Linked DNA regions of Homo sapiens: region 2 is linked to region 1. Evidence: promoter capture Hi-C in human tissues and cell types (Jung and others, 2019). All regions are on one chromosome and are shown on one strand. The core of a region is centred on a gene start or on the middle of the fragment in contact, and the rest is flanking DNA. Distances in the headings are between cores, read along the strand shown. Region 1 holds the start of SPATA4 (spermatogenesis associated 4). Region 2 overlaps GLRA3 (glycine receptor alpha 3).

Region 1 (3,210 bases), core at 456-2,955:
TTTAATTTCCTTTCACAGTAGAAATGGCTATTCAAAGCTTTCATCTTAAAAATCAGCTTAAAATACCACCTTCTAAGATCCAAATTAATGGTCATCTCTTTTGAGAGGACTTCTTACACTCTCCCAGGCCAAAGTATTTGCTTCCTTTCTGGTGCTAACATATTTTTACCATGGCAGAGCTTTTCAGTGTATGTAATCTTTTCACTGATATTTCTATCTCTGAATCTCTTATAAATGATCTGCCGCACAGAGCTGTCCAATCGAAATTCCTGTAGTGATGGAACAGTGCTGTGTCTGTCCTACCCAACATGGCAGCCACTAGCTACATATGGCTATTGAGCAGGTAAAATGTAGCCAGTGGAACTGAGTTTATTTAAATTTAAGTTTAAATAGCCACATGTGGCTAGTGGCTACCATATTGGATGGTAAAGATCTAGCACATACTCCAGGATAGTTCCTCAGAAAAGGTTTACAGAATGAATGAATCATTCATTAAAACTTTTTTAGCCTAACAGAAAACACTTACATAGCTTCAGTTTTGGTTTTCTTTTTTAACCACATACAGAATACACTGGTTTACTTTATTAATAAGCATGTATATGAATAAACATTAAAAATATTACATAGTATCATTATCAAGATCTATCCCATATTTTACCATGTGTATGTATCCACAGGGCCTGTCACCTGGCTCTCTGCAGCCTCAAGTTCCTGAGCTCAAGCAATCCTCCCACCTCAGCATCTGGAGTACTTGAGAGTACAGGTGTGCACCACCACACCCAGCTATTTTGTTTGTTTGTTTGTTTTGTAGCGAAAGTCTCTCCACCTTGTGTTGCCCAGGCTGGTCTTGAACTCCTGAGCTCAAACGATCCTCCCGCCTCCACCACCCAAAGTGCTGGGATTACAGGCATGACCCACTGTGCCCTGCCAAGCAAAAAAAAACAAAAAACAAAAAACAAAAAACAAAAAACTGTGGCTGTAAAAATTTTTAATGGATTTTAATAATTAAGCTTACATATTTATAATTGCCTATGCCAACTTTGCAGTTGTTTTCATTGTGTTCAGATAGATCCCAAGTGACTAGATGAATGCGTGGCACATAATATGGACTCAATACATATTTGTTGAATTAATGAAGGAATTATGCCTACTAGGAGATTTTAATTAAGTGTGAAAATCTAACCTACACATCGTTTTCAAATATTAATGTTTACAAATACTTAATGCAATAATTAAGGAAATAGTTATGTTAAATTTTGTGGACATTCATTTCCATTTCAAAGATTTTTTTCCCCCATCTCTTCCAATTCCCAAACAAAAACTGTCCTTGGCCTCTGGAGTCTTCTCACACCACTCCTCAAACTAGACGACTGAAAATAGGCCTTTGGCTGGGCAGAAACCAACAATATTTAAAATACAAAACTTATGAACGATGACATAAGAAAAAAAAAGCTCTAAATAGGTTAACAGTGAGGCCAACTAAATCTGAGACTGAAAGCGCTCCCCAGACCGCAGCCACACCACTGGGACCCCAGCTTTGCCTCCCTCGATACCCGGCCCCGCGGTCCAAAATCTGAGTAAAGCGGAAGTACGGGCGGCTGCTGCGGCGCTTGCGCAGGCGCTGAGGTCTCGCCCCATAAGACTCCGCCCCGCCCCACGAGACCGCGCCGCCAGCAATAAGGCCCAGCCCCGCCTTCTGCTGTTGCCGCAGCAACCCAGAAAGCGTCATGGCTGCCGCCGGCCAGGAAAAAGGGTATTTGACACAGACTGCGGCAGCCCTAGACAAGTCACCGTCACTTTCGCCACAGCTAGCAGCTCCCATCCGAGGGAGGCCTAAGAAGTGTCTGGTCTATCCGCATGCGCCGAAGAGCTCCCGCTTGTCTCGTTCCGTTCTGCGTTGGCTTCAGGGTCTGGATCTCAGCTTCTTCCCCAGGAACATCAACAGGTGCTTGAGTAAGCCAGTCCTAGGCCCCCCCGGTGGGCGCCCCGCCTGCTTTCCGCCGCCTGCCAGGCCTCAGATTGCCTACCCTGGCCTGGCTTATGTTTCAAATCAAGACCCCCCCACCCACGTACACACACGAAAACACTATTAGGGAACAAGGCTTTAACAAAATACCACGATACATCTTGTTTATTCAATTAATCAACCAATCATTAAATTGTGGACAATATAGAATGCTTTGGTGACTACAAAAATATTAAAATAGTCAAAGCTTTTTCTTTAGTGATATTGGGCATTAATACTGGTAAGGACGGCCGGGCACAGTTGCTCATGCCTGTAATCCCAGCATTTTGGGAGCCGAGGCAGGCGGATCACCTGAGGTCAGGAGTTGAGTAACAGCCTGACCAACACGGTGAAACCCCGTCTCTACTAAAAAATACAAAAAATTAGCCCAGTGTGGTGGCGGGTGCCTGTAATCCCAGCTACTGGGGAGGCTGCAGGCAGGAGAATGCTTGAACCCGGGAGGCGGAGGTTGCTGTGAGTCGAGATTATGCCGCTGCACTCCAGCCTAGGTGGCAGGGTAAGACTCTGTCTCAAAAAAAAAAAAAAAAAAAAAAAAAAAAAATACTGGTAAGGATCAGTTTACCCTTTGTCGGAGATGGCATCTAGTTTGAGAGTTACCAACAAGTTTTTAAAGTTGCTGCTTAATTGTAGGCACTTTGTATGTAACTGGCAGCTAATATTTGCTCTGGGAATGCAAACTAAATTCTATAAAAAGGCAATGAATCTTTTGCAGAACTCTGGTTTAAAGTAGTCTCTCCTTATCAGAGAGGCATAGGTTCCAAGATCCCCAGTGGATGGCAACTGTGGATACTACAGAACCCTCTGTCAGAACACATTTCTGTTTATGTCTTCCATCCACAAATTTAATGCCTTTTTAAAAATCTTAACTAAGCACTTATCACACACTGTGGCTGAAAGTTTTTCAGTTTGAGGTGTGATGCCGAAACTATCAAGAATTTCTTTTTCTTCATATTTCAGGAATATGATTCATTCCTACCATTGTAACCATTCTTACAACTTTCTATTAAGTCAAGAACTTTCATCTTTTCACCTAAAGGAATAATTTTATGGTTTCTCTCTGGCATATCTGAATCACCAGCATCACTGCTCTTGCACTTTGCACACAAGCGCACCACACTGTACAGTTGATCTGATGACTAAAAGGTGACTGATGTCTACAACGTGGAGACTCTGGACAAAGGGAG
Region 2 (3,210 bases), core at 433-2,932, 1.5 Mb after region 1:
AGTACTAATGTTAAAAGTCTTTCCCAAGACTTCTTAAAGGAAAAGAAGAAACGCCATATCCTGTTTATGTATCTTGTCTCAGAAAGAGAACTTAGTGTCTCTCTTACACAAGTAAACATTTATTTCCAAAACAGTAGAATGTGATTAATTGCCTCTTGATTTAATTTTCTTTTGATGTGGTCAAGACATGTCTTTAATTTATATGTAGTGTTTTGACAAAGAAATTCAGTATCAAACCCACCAAGTTGACACGTATTTTTCAGTATGCTGTGAAAGGAGCAATTGTATTGTACCTTAAACAAAAAGAAAGAAAAGTCGATGAATAGATTTTTTCAGGATATGATTTATGACCGAAGTCCTACAAACTGTGTTTTTCTTTGCCAAATAATTCCTTTCAAGTGCTATTTTTTTAGAATTATGTAATGTCTCTTTTTTTATGCCAGAAAAATAGCCAGGATATGAATTTGACATCACATGCATGGTGAGAGCATGGAAAAGATTCTGAGAATGCTATTTACTTCCAAACAAAAGGTCACAGAATTAATTCTGCAAGTCAACATTTGAAACTGGCTGTCTGAGAGCCTTGGATATTTGGAAAATTAATGTGTGTACATTCAAAATATATGTGTGCATACACTTCTAATAAGCCCTTTCACAAGGCAAAAAACATTGTGTCTACCTAATTTTAAAATTGCCTTTTTAAGAGAGAACTTTGTAAAATTACACAATCATACTTAACCTAGCTGAGCCAGGAGAAAAATTCCTTTTGAATGTTGAACTCCATGAATTATTCTAGTGTGTTATGGACTCTGACTCGAATGAATTACCAGATTATCCTCCTAAGACTCTTAAAATTCAGCAGCTTCACTGTCTCTCCATTTATGTGTCCCAAATTATGTTAATTGGACCTAACTCACCAAGCATACTCTCTGTAGACTATACATCATTCTAACTTTATGTCTATGGTCTACATAAAAATGTCAGCTTGACGAATGTGGTTATATTTAGTAGAGCTGCAGACTATTTTTTGTTAAAGCTTAAATAGTTCTTTTTTATTCCTTTCTTCTTTCTTTTTCCTTCCTTCCTTTCCTTCTTTCTTTCCTCCCTCCTTTCTTTGTTTCTTTGTTTCTTCTTTCTTTCCTTCTTTCTTTTTCTTTCTTTCTCTCTCTTTCTCTCTCTCTCTCTCCCTCCCTCCCTCCCTTCCTTCCTGCATGCCTTCCTTTCTTTTTTTTTTTTTTAAGAGACAAGATCTTGCTCTGTCACCCAGGCTATAGTTCAGCAGTGTGAGCCTAGCTCACTGCAGTCTCGACCTCCTGGGCTCAAGCCATACTCTCACCTCAGCTTCCTGAGTAGCCAGGATTACAGGTGCACAAGCCATACCTGGCTAATTTAAAATATATATATATATATATTTGTAGAGATAGAGTATTTTTATGTTGCCCAGGATGATCACAAACTACTGGGCTCAAGCGATCCTCTCTTCTTAGCCTCCCAAAGCGCTGGAATTACAGGCGTAAGACACCACGCCTGGCTAAATAGTTCTTAATATGTAATTTAATTTAGTCATCTTTGTGCCCACACTATAGAATTTGGCAGATGAGTAAATGAAGGAGTCTAGGAGTGGCTGAATATACTAATAATCACTAACAACCACTGTTTGTTGAGTGTTTGCTATGGCTTAAGCACTTGTCTAAGCACTTATGTGTGTTAACGCATGTACTGCTCATAGCAACTCTCTGGAGTAGGTACTATTGTTATCTTCATTTTAAAGATGAGAAAACTGCAATATAGGGGATTTGAAGTAATCTGCCTAGGGTCACGAAGTTTAAGTAAACTAATCCACCTAGGGTGCTCATGAAGACACTGAATTTCAATGGGAATATTCTCAGTGCAAGAGGCTTGCTAAAGAGTTCTCAGAAAAGAACTTCATTTGAATAAACTTGAGTGGATCTCACCATCTCTTCCTCAGGTGTAGGAACCAGAAAAACTACCCTGAAGAGATCTGGGTAGAATGCTTTTCCAGCAAAAAGTATTCAAAGGTGATGAATTTTCTGGAATGTCAACATACTAATTCTCTCTGGAAGTTGGAGGAGAGCCTTTCCAATGAGCGGAATACTGGTATACAGCATCTAGGTTATCCTTTGTGTGAAGCCAAATCAGAAGTTTGTTTGATGAGCATAGAATCAGATCATGAATATTCTAGAGGGCTATTTCCTGACCCTGATGATTCCCTTATCCCACACCGGGGAACATGAGGCCGAACTTTTCAAGTCCTCCAGATTCACTTTACTAAATACACTGCTGAATGTTCACTGACAACATCAGGGTCGTTAGAATGATGACTGAACGTTACATATGATTGCTCCTCTCCACCCTGCTTTTCCACGTTTAGAACTCTAATGCCTCTGGAATATAGCATGTGATTTGCAAGGAAAGATACCTTTTGACGTTTGGCATTAATTTTATAGGATCCACTCTTGAATTTCTCTTTTGAGGATGTCGTCTTGGAATACAGACATTTTCTAGACATCCACAGCCCTTTCTAATTGAATAAATAAACATATAGATATATAAATATGACGGGATGCTTATATTTAGGTTAGTGCAAAAGTAATTGCTGTTTTGCCAGCACTTTTAATGGCAAAACCCACGATTACTTTAGCACCAGCCTAAGATATGCAATTATCCAACCCCCAGCCCACCAAAGCCAGATTTGTATATAAGGGCATAGCTATTTTATAGTAAGTAGGATACATAAGCTGGAGAAATTTTTACTTAAATCTGAGTTAGTCACCAGCAAAGCAACATTGTTTCTCCTGTACAATAGAATATTAATATAATGTCATAAATTTCCTTTAAAAATAATTACTTTGACTTTCAGATTAACATTAACACTTTCCTGTCCAATGGATCTCAAGAATTTTCCCATGGATGTACAAACATGTATAATGCAACTGGAAAGCTGTAAGTATGAACCACTTACTTTTTAAAATACTTTTACATTATAGTAGATACAAGCTTTTAATGCCTAATATGGATAATTTATTTTGTAATCATTTTGGTCACATATTTACTGAATAGGCATGTAACCTTTCACCAGGTACTGAAAATAATGATACCTATCAACACATGCACTCCACACTATGAGAAAGAAACAAATTGAGGATCTAAAAATAACAGATTTTCAAAGCTTGATATTTAGATATGTGT

What was found. The method cuts DNA at HindIII sites, captures the fragments that hold promoters and counts their contacts. A contact is called where the count stands out against the background at its distance.
Region 2: a fragment that was not itself captured here is called in contact with the fragment with the promoter of SPATA4 in region 1 in 1 of the 25 tissues and cell types used here (dorsolateral prefrontal cortex).

The regions. Positions count from the first base shown.
Region 1 is chr4:176,194,080-176,197,289 of GRCh38, reverse strand. SPATA4 (spermatogenesis associated 4) reads left to right here and starts at 1,705. Exons shown (of 6, transcript NM_144644.4): 1 at 1,705-1,945. The coding sequence starts at 1,728. The HindIII fragment of the contact is 4,035 bases long and covers 525-3,210 here.
Region 2 is chr4:174,715,242-174,718,451 of GRCh38, reverse strand. It overlaps GLRA3 (glycine receptor alpha 3), which reads left to right. Exons shown (of 10, transcript NM_006529.4): 5 at 2,882-2,964. Among named protein-coding and RNA genes, the nearest start is that of GLRA3, 110 kb to the left of the region's middle. The HindIII fragment of the contact is 5,278 bases long and covers 1-3,210 here.